Linked DNA regions of Homo sapiens: region 1 is linked to region 2. The links are contacts of gene promoters, found by promoter capture Hi-C in human tissues and cell types (Jung and others, 2019). All regions are on one chromosome and are shown on one strand. Each heading gives the region's core, a stretch centred on a gene start or on the middle of the fragment in contact. The rest is flanking DNA. Distances are from core to core; before and after follow the strand shown.

The links. Contacts are between HindIII fragments. The study calls those that stand out against the background at their distance.
Region 1: a contact is called between a fragment that was not itself captured here and the fragment with the promoter of CSTF3 in region 2, in 2 of the 25 tissues and cell types used here (adrenal gland and mesendoderm cells).

What each region holds. Positions count from the first base shown.
Region 1 is chr11:33,676,804-33,681,938 of GRCh38, forward strand. No RefSeq gene overlaps it. Among named protein-coding and RNA genes, the nearest start is that of C11orf91, 21 kb to the right of the region's middle. The HindIII fragment of the contact is 9,272 bases long and covers 1-5,135 here.
Region 2 is chr11:33,160,127-33,165,235 of GRCh38, forward strand. CSTF3 (cleavage stimulation factor subunit 3) reads right to left here and starts at 1,354. Exons shown (of 21, transcript NM_001326.3): 1 at 1,173-1,354. The coding sequence starts at 1,199. It overlaps CSTF3-DT (CSTF3 divergent transcript), which reads left to right and starts at 1,531. Exons shown (of 4, transcript NR_034027.1): 1 at 1,531-1,655. RefSeq lists enhancers at 1-583, 1,319-1,738. The HindIII fragment of the contact is 6,364 bases long and covers 1-5,046 here.

The DNA.
Region 1 (5,135 bases), core at 1,760-4,259, 520 kb after region 2:
ATTAGCCCTGGAGAAGTGGGCATGCATATCTGGGTATGGTTTTATCCTGTTTTTTATTATTTCCATAGGTTTTTGGGGAACAGGTAGTATTTGCTTACATAAGTTCTTTAGTGGTTTGTGAGATTTTGGTGCGCCTGTCACCCAAGCAGTATACACTGAACCCAGTTTGTAGCCTTTTTCCCCTCACCCCCTTCCCACCCTTTCCTCATGAGTCCTTGAAGTCTATTGTATCATCCTTATGCCTTTGCATTCTCATAGCTTAGCTCCCACTTACGAGTGAGAACATACAATGTTCGGTTTTTCATTCCTGAGTTACTTCGCTTAGAATAATAGTCTCCAATCCCATCTTGTTTGCTGCAAATGCCATTAATTCATTGCTTTTTATGGCTGAGTAGTATTCCATTATACATATATACCACAATTTCTTTATCCACTCATTGATTGATGGGCATTTGGGCTAGTTCCATATTTTTGTAATTACAAATTGTGCTGCTATAAACATGCATGTGCAAGTATCTTTTTTGTATAATGACTTCTTTTCCTCTGGGTAGATACCCATTAGTGGATCAAATGGTAGTTCTGCTTTTAGATCTTTAAAGAATCTCCAGACTGTTTTCCATAGTGGTTGTACTGGTTTACATTCCTACCAGCAGTGTAGAAGTGTTCCCTTGTCAGCACATCCATGCCAACATCTATTTTTTTTTTTTTTGATAATGGTCATTCTTGAGGGAGTAGGGTGGTATCACATTGTGGTTTTGATTTGCATTTCTGTGATCATTAGTTATGTTGAGCATTTTTTCATATGTTTGATGGCCATTTGTATATCTTATTTTGAGCAATTTCTATTCATGCTCTTAGCCCACTTTTTGATGGGATTGTTTATTTCTTGCTAATTTGTTAGAGTTCCTTGTAGATTCTGGATATTATTCCTTTGTCAGGTGTATAGATTGTGAAGATTTTCCCCCACTCTGTGGGTTGTCTGTTTACTCTGCTGACTGTTCCTTTTGCTCTGCAAAAGCTCTTTAGTTTAATTTAAAGTCCCAAGTATGTATCTTTGTTTTGTTTTTGTTGCATTTGCTTTTGGGTTCTTTTGGTCATGAAACCTTTGCCTAAGCCAATGTCTAGAAGGGTTTTTCCAATGTTATCTTCTAGAATTTGTATAGTTTTAGGTCTTAGATTTAAGTCCTTGATCCATCTGGAGTTGACTTTTGTACAAGGTGAGAGATGAGGATCCAGTTTCATTCTCCTACATGTGGCTTGCCAATTATCCCAGCACCATTTGTTGAATAGGGTGTCCTTTCCCCACTTTATGTTTTTGTTTGCTTTGTTGAAGATCAGTTGGCTGTAAGTATTTGGATTTATTTCTTGGTTCTCTGTTCTGTTCCACTGGTCTATGTGCCTATTTTTATACCAGTACCATGCTGTTTTGGTGACTGTGGCTTTATAATATAGTTTGAAATCAGGTAATGTGATGCCTCCAGATTTGTTCTTTTTGCTTAGTCTTGCTTTGGCTAGGTAGACTCTTTTCAGTTCCATGTGAATTTTAGGAATGTTTTTTCTAGTTCTGTGAAGAATGATGGTGGTATTTTGATGGGAATTGCATTGAATTTATAGATTGCTTTTGGCAATATGATTATTTTCACAATGTTAATTTTACCCATCCATGAGCATGACATGTGTTTTCCATTTGTTTGTGTCTATGATTTCTTTCAGCAGTGTTTTGTAGTTGTCCTTGCAGAGGTCTTTCACCTCCTTGGTTAGATATATTCCTAAGTATTTTATTTTATTTGTAAAAAAGAAAAGCTTATTGTAAAAAAAGGTTGAGTTCTTCATTTGATTCTTAGCTTGATCACTGTTGGTGTATAGCAGAGCTACTGACTTGTGTACATTAACTTTGTATCCTGAAACTTTGCTGAATTCATTAATCAGTTCTAGGAGCTTTTTGGAGGAGTCTTTAGGGTTTTCTAGGTATACAGTCATACCATGAGCAAACAGCAACAGTTTGACTTCCTCTTTAGTGATTTGAATGCCCTTTATTTTTTTTCTCTTGCCTGATTGCTCTGACTAGGACTTCCAATACTACGTTGAATAGAAGTGGTGAGAGTGGGCATCCTTGTCTTGTTCCAGTTCTCAGAGGGAATGCTTTCAACTTTTCCCAGTTCAGTATTATGTTGGCTGTGGGTTGTGATAGATGGCTTTTATTTCATTGAGGTATGTCCCTTGTATGCCGATTTTGCTGAGAGTTGTAATCATAAAAGTGATGCTGGATTTTGTCACATGCTTTTTCTGTGTCTATTGAGATGATCATGTGATGTGATTTTTGTTGTTAATTGTTTAAGTAGTGTGTCATATTTATTGACTTGCATATGTTAAACTATCCCTACATCCCTAGTATGAAACCTACTTGATAATGGTGTATTATCCTTTTTGATATGCTGTTGAATTTGGTTAGCTAGTATTTTGGTGGGGATTTTTGCATCTATGTTCAACAGGAATATTGGTGTGTAATTTTCTTTTTTTGTTATGTCCTTTCCCAGTTTTGGTGTTAGGGTGATACTAGCTTCATAGAATGATTTAGGGAGGATTCCCTCTTTCTCTATCTTATGGAATAGTGTCAATAGGATTGGTACCAATTCTTCTTTGAATGCCTGGTTTCAGCTGTGAATCCATCTGGTCCTGGACTTTTTCTGTTGGTATTTTTTTTAATTACCATTTCATTTTCACTGTTTGTTTTGGGTCTCTTCAGGGTTTCTAATTCTTCCTGATTTAAGCTAAGAGAATTGTATCTTTCCAGGAATTTATGCATCTCCTCTAGGTTTTATAGTTTATGTTCATAAAGGTGTTCATAGTAGCCTTGAATGATCTTTTGTATTTCTGTGGTGTTGGTTGTAATATCTCCCATTTTGTTTCTAATTGAGCTTATTTGGATCTTCTCTCTTTTTGGTTAATCTTGCTAATGGTCTATCAGTTTTATTTATCTTTTCAAAGAACCAGCTTTTTGTTTCATTTATCTTTTGTATTGTTTCTCTTGCTTCAATTTCATTTAGTTCTGCTCTGATCTTTGTTATTTCTTTTCCTCTGCTGGGTTGGGGTTTGGATTGTTCTTGTTTCTCCAGTTCCATGAGGTGTGACCTTAGATTGTCTATTTGTGCTCTTTCAGACTTTTTGATGTAGGCGTTTAATGCTATGAAGTTTCCTCTTAGCATCACTTTTGCTGTGTCTCAAAAGTTTTGATAGGTTGTGTCACTATTATTGTTCAGTTCAAAGAACTTTTTAATTTCCATCTTGATTTCATTGTTGACCCAACGATCATTCAAGAGCAGGTTATTTAATTTCCATGTATATATGGTTTTGAGGATTCCATTTGGAGTTGATTTCCAATTTTATTGCACTGTGGTCTGAGACAGTACTTGATATAGTTTCAGTTTTCTTAAATTTATTGAGACTTGTTTTGTGACCTATCATATGGTCTATCTTGGAGAAAATTCCATGCACTGATGAATAGAATGTATATTCTGCAGTTGTTGGGTAGAATGTTCTTAAATATTTGTCAAGTCCATTTGTTCCAGGGTATAGTTTAAATCCATTGTTTCTTTGTTGAAGTTCTGTCTTGAAGACCTGTCTAGTGCTGTCAGTGGAGTATTGAAGTCCCCTAGTATTATTGTGTTGCTGTCTATCTCATTTCTTAGGTCCAGTAGTAATTGTTTTATAAATTTGGGAGCTCTGGTGTTAGGTGCGTATATATTTAGGATTGTGATATTTTCCTGTTGGACAAAGCCTTTTATCATTATATAATATCCTGCTTTGTCTTTTTAAACTGCTGTTGCTTTAAAGTTTGTTTTGTCTGATATAAGAATAGCTACTTCTGCTCGCTTTTGGTGTCCATTTGTGTAGAATGTCTTTTTCCACCTCTACCTTAAGTTTATGTGAGTCTTTATGTGTCAGGTGAGTCTCTTGAAGGCAGCAGGTACTTGGTTGGCGAATTCTTGTCCATTCTGCAATTCTGTATCTTCTAAGTGGAGCATTTAGGCTATTTGCATTCAACATTAGTATTGAAATGTGAGGTACTATTCCATTCATCATGCTATTTGTTGCCTGTATACCTTGGGTTTTTAAAAAAAATTTTTATAGGTCCTGTGAGATTTATGCTTTAAAGAGATTCTGTTTTGATGTGTTTCTGGGATTTGTTTCAAGATTTAGAGCTCCTTTTAGTAGTTCTTGTAGTGGTGGTTTGGTAGTGGCAAATTCTCTTAGCATTTGTTTGTCTGAAAAAGACTATCATCTTTCCTTCATTTATGGAGCTTAGTTTCACTGGATACCAAATTCTTGGCTATTTACGGAGGTTGAAGATAGGGTCCCAATCCCTTCTAGCTTGTAGGGTTTCTGCTGACAAATCTGCTGTTAATCTGATAGGTTTTCCTTTATAGGTTACCTGGTGCTTTTGCCTCACAGCTCTCAAGATTCTTTCCTTCATCTTGACTTTAGATAACCTGATGACAGTGTGCCTAGGTGATGATCTTTTGCAGTAAATTTCCCAGGTGTTCTTTGAGCTTCTTGTATTTGGATGTCTAGGTTTCTAGCAAGGCTGGGGAAGTTTTCCTCAATTATTCCCCCAAATATGTTTTCCAAACTTTTAGATTTCTCTTCTTCCTTAGGAATGCCAATTATTCTTAGGTTTGGTCATTTAACATAATCCCAAACTTCTTGGAGGCTTTGTTCATTTTTTAAAAATTCTTTTGTCTTTGTTGGATTGGGTTAAATCAAAAACCTTGTCTTCGAGTCTGAAGTTCTTTCTGCTGCTTGTTCGATTCTATTGCTGAGATTTTCCGGTACATTTTGCATTTCTCTAAGTGTGTCCTTTATTTCCTGAAGTTGTGATTGTTTTTTATTTATGCTATTTCACTGAAGATTTCTTCCCTCATATCTTGTATCATTTTTTTATTTCCTTAAATTGGACTTCATCTTTCTCTGGTGCCTCCTTGATTAGTTTAATAATCAACCTTCTAAATTCTTTTTTTAGGTAAATCAGGGATTTCTTCTTCATTTGGATCCATTGCAGGTGAGCTAGTGTGACTTTTTGGGGGTGTTAAAGAACCTTGTTTTGTCATGTTACCAGTATTTTTTTTCCGGGTTCC
Region 2 (5,109 bases), core at 104-2,603:
CAGTTTTGATACAGTAATTTTAAGACTTTGCATGCTTGGGCATGCTAACACTATGTAAAATGTAAATAGTGCGAAGATTTCTGGACTGAAACCAGTCCTCGGGCAAACACAAAACAATTTAATCAAACTGCCGACATAATGAAATCTACAGTCTTACAGACTATGCAATAGAACGCTCCTATTTTGCCTCATCTCTGCCAACCTCCAATAACATCTTCCACGTTATAAGCTAGGGAACCTGAAAAACGAAAACCTAAGTGCATGTCGTTGCTATGGCAATGGGAAATTTCAGGAAATTGAGACTGCAGGCTACCTAGCCTCCATTTTAGAAACTGTATTTATCTAAACACACCAGGACTTAGATCGAAAAACACATTTAATGGCATTTTTCATAACTATTTAGCTTCCTCTTTCACACTAAAAGGTAAATACTATCCTACAAAATTCTGAATACAAAGAGCAAAAGAAACAAATCACACTGATCTAACCTAAAAGTGTGAATTTTAAAATATTTAGTTGTCACTCATATTTACTATTAAAACAGATGCTTTTATTTACAGTGGCCAAAACAGACTTCTCATTTTCAACTTATACCTGCAATGTTTATGTAGCTGGAAAAATGAAAACGAAATGTGGCTAAAAGAAAAGAAAACGAAAGAAAGCCACAAAATTCCCAAAACCTCAGCATAACTTGCTTCTTTCTTCACTCGCTCTCATTAAGTCTTAATTCTCCAGATTAGCTTTGTCTCAAATATTTCTCAAACTAGTAACCTATTTCTGGGTACAGTATATTTGGCGGGGTAAAAGAAACACTGTCAAGTTTTTCTAAAACGTCGGGTGCACGTTAAAATAATTCCTATCCACTCTAATACCAAAACGATATCAAAGGAAAGCATCCCATCTGGAGTAGTCCCATGAATCTAAATAGGACGAAGCAGCCTACCGCTATTGTCTAAATCAAGTATTTACTCGTATTCATGCCTAAGAGAGAGAAGTAAAAAAAAAAAAATTAAATCTTAGATCTTGCTCCCCATTCCCACCACTCTTCTATATACCCTGTCCCCCGGGTTCACTAGACCCAATTCCTTCCTCAGCCGAACATGTCTGGAGCAGTCGGAGGAACAGACGTGGAGAAGAGGTCGCCACGAGGCCCCACCACTCTCCTTCCTCACCTGCTCCGTGGCTCCGTCTCCTGACATGGCCTCAGCTGATTACAACGTGCGCACTGACCGTCGATGGGAAGCTAGAAAAGAAAAATTAAACTAAAAACCACCCCCAAATCAGTAAAGTTACCCCCTGCCCAGCTGAGCCAGACCGCCAACACCAATCGCCACCGCCCACTCAAATATGAATTAAAATGGCTGCGCCCCTGCCGGCCGAGGAGGAGGTGTGTGGCTTCCGCATTAACTTCCGGGGCAGTGGGCGGGGCTAATTTCGCGACTCTGGTTATTCCGAGCGTGCAGAAAGCAGCGAGATCCCGGGGCGGGCCCAATTCCTGGGCTGACGTCACTACCCTGGCTTGGAGAGGCTGTTGCTGAGCCGGCTCCAACCGGCTGGAAGGCGGGAAGCTGTTTCGCCTGGAGGCTCGCGCGCTTTTTGGAATTCAGTTATCAAGCTTTAGAGCCTGGCTACTCACAGTTGAAGCCTGATTGCAGGTCAGCAATGCTAAACGTTAAATGCCTCTTATATTTAGGGGATAAGGACTCCGTGGAGGTTTTCTCTGGTCCCAGCTCCTGCTTTTTACTTTTCTTGGGGGTGGGAGGGATAGATCAAGCCCCCATTAATTTTTACTGCCACCGTCGACTCTTGTGTAGAAAGCTTTGAAGTCTGAGACCTGGGTTTTCAGCTCAACATCTCAGCTTGGTTCCTTGACTGCAAAGTAGGTATAATTGTTTGTAGCCCAGACTGCTTGGATTTTAACGAAGATAAGTAACTCTGGTAATTAAACTTCGTACCTCAGCTTTCTGGCCTATAGATGGGAATAATAATAGTACCTGCAAGTGAAATAAATTATACATAGAAAAGTGTTAGAACAGTACCTGGCATTAAGATTAAATGAGATTGACTGGGCGCGGTGGCCCACGCCTGTAATCCCAGCAGTTTGGGAGGCCAAAACGGATGGATCATTTAAAGTCAGGAGTTCTAGGCCAGGTGCGGTGGCTCACGCCTGTAATCGCAGCACTTTGGGAGGCTGAGGCGGGCGGATCACAAGGTCAGGAGATGAGACCATCCTGGCTAATACGGTAAAACCCCGTCTCTACTAAAAATACACACACACACAAAAAAAAATTAGCCGGGCGTGGTGGCGGGCGCCTGTAGTCCCAGCTACTCCGGATGCTGAGGCAGGAGACTGGCGTGAACCTGGGAGGCGGAGCTTGCAGTGAGCCGAGATCGCGCCACTGCACTCCAGCCTGGGCGGCAGAGCGAGACTCCGTCTCAGAAAATAAATAAATAAAGTCAGGAATTCAGGACCAACCTGGCCAACTTGGTGAAATCTCGTCTCTACCAAAAATACAAAAAAAGTAGCCGGGCGTGGTGGTTTGCGCCTGTAGTCCCAGTTACTCGGGAAGCTTAAGCAGGAGAATCGCTTGAACCCGCGAGGCGGAGGTTGCAGTGAGCCGAGATTCCAGCCTGGACTACAGAGCGAGACTCCGTCTCAAAAAAAATAAAAAATAAAAAATTAAATGATACTAAATCTTCTCAAACTGCTCTTCCATTTAAGCGTCATCGTTAGATGTCTGCAAGCATTTCTCGCCTACGGGGGTCCAATGCCCTAAAATAACCTAGTGAACTGTTCCCAGACTCGCCTTATTCTTTTAGGTCTCCTTTCCTCTGCTCAAACTTACACTTACTCCCTTTCCACAGGCTGAAATCTTACCCTTAAAATAATCAGACACATGAGCAAAAGATATGTATTAACAGATGTTCATTGCACCATCCAGCAATGGAGGACTGGTTAAAAATATCACAAGATTTATCTCTGCAATGGAATATCACACAGCAAACTGATGCTAATGTACGATGACTGACAGAAAGGCAACCACCGTATTAAATGAAGAAAAGCAGAATATGAAAGTGTTTTACGTATATATACTTACCACTTTAGCATCCTAATCTGAAAATCCAAAATCTGAAATACTCCAATGAGCATTTCCTTTGAGAGTCATGTCAGTGCTTAAAAAGTTAGATTTTGGAGCGTTTTGAGTTTTGGAACATTTAGGTTTTTTTTTTTTTTTCTCTTGAGGCAGAGTCTTGCTCTGTCGCCCAGGCCGGAGTGCAGTGGTGCGATCTCGGCTCACTGCACCCTACACCTCCCAGGTTCAAGCGATTCTCCTGCCTCAGCCTCCTGAGTAGCTGGGATTACAGGCGTGCGCCACCACGCCCGGCTAATTTTTGTATTTTTTCTTTTTCTTTTTTTTTTTTTGAGACGGAGTCTCGCTCTGTCGCCCAGGCTGGAGTGCAGTGGCACAATCTCGGCTCACTGCAAGCTCCCAAGCTCCGCCTCCTGGGTTCACTCCACTCTCCTGCCTCAGCCTCCCAAGTACCTGGGACTACAGGCGCCTGCCACCGCCCTGGCTAATTTTTTTGTATTTTTAGTAAAGAAGGGGTTTCACCATGTTGGCCAAGCTGGTCTGAACTCCTGGCCTCAAGTGATCCACCCAACTCGGCCTCCCCAAGGATTGGGATGACAGGCGTGAGCTAACGCGCCTGGCCCAGATTTTTGAATTAGGGATACTCAACCTGTTATAAATATATATATATATATATATATATATATATATATATATATATATATATATTTTTTTTTTTTTTTTTTTTTTTTTTTTTTTTGACACTGAGTCTCGCCCTTTCACCCAGGCTGGAGTGCAGTGGTGCGATCTCGGCTCACTGCAAGCTCTGCCTCCTGGGTTCAAGTGATTCTCGTGCCTCAGCCTCCTTAGTAGCTGGGATTACAGGCTCCCACCACCACACCGGGCTAATTTTTGTATTTTTAGTCGAGACAGGATTTCACCATATTGGTCAGGCTGGTCTTGAACTCCTGACCTCAGGTGATCCACTGGCCTTGGCCTCCCAAAGTGCTGGGATTACAGGCGTGAGCCACCACATCCAGCCTCAACCTGTATATAGCTTAAAAAAATTAAAAGTGGTTATATCTACATTGTGTGTCACATAAATTTACTCTTTTTATCTGTTTTCTGATTTTTCTTTATTGAACTGATGTAAGAACAACAAAGTCTTAAAACAGTATTCATACTCTTTCAAAGTTTGTCTCAAATGCCATTTTTTCCAGTTTGTTGTTTTGTTTTGACAGGGTCCCCCTCTGTCGCCCAGGCTGGAGTGCAGTGGCACGGTCTTGGCTCACTGCAACCTCTGCCTCTCAGGTTCAAGCGATTCTCCTACCTCAGCCTTCTGAGTAGTTAGGATTATGGGCGCCTGCCACCATGCCTGGCTAATTTTTGTATTTTTAGTAGAGACAGGGTTTCACCATGTTGCCCAGGCTGGTCTTGAACTCCTGGACTCAAGCAATCCGTCTGCCTTGGCCTCCCAAGGTGTTGGGATTACAGGTGTAAGCTATGGCGCCTGGCCCTCATTTTTTCCAGTGTTTTTAACAAATATAGAGATAAAAGTTTAAATAATAATGCAATGAATACCTGTATAACTACCACCTTGATTAACATTTTAGTGTGTTTGCTTTATATGTATGTATTTACGTACATAGTTTTTTTTTTGGCAGGGGGAGCCAGATTATTTTTTATTTTTATTTTTCTGCCTAGAGTCTTTTAGTATTACAGTTTGAGGTTTTGTTCACAGAATAATATGAAAATAAATTACAGACATTGTGACAATCCCAAAATGGTCAATTTGTATTTTCTGTGAATAATGACATTCTCTTCCATATTCACATAAGATATAAGGGGGCTGAGTGTGGTAGCTCACGCTTGTAATCCCAGCACTTTGGGAGGCCAAGAGGGGAAGATCACTTGAGCACAAAAGTTTGGGACCAACCTGGGCAACATCGCATGACCCCTCTACAAAAAATTTTAAAAATTAGCTGATTTTGGTGTCGCATGCCTGTGGTCCCAGCTGCTTGGGAAATGGGAGGATTGC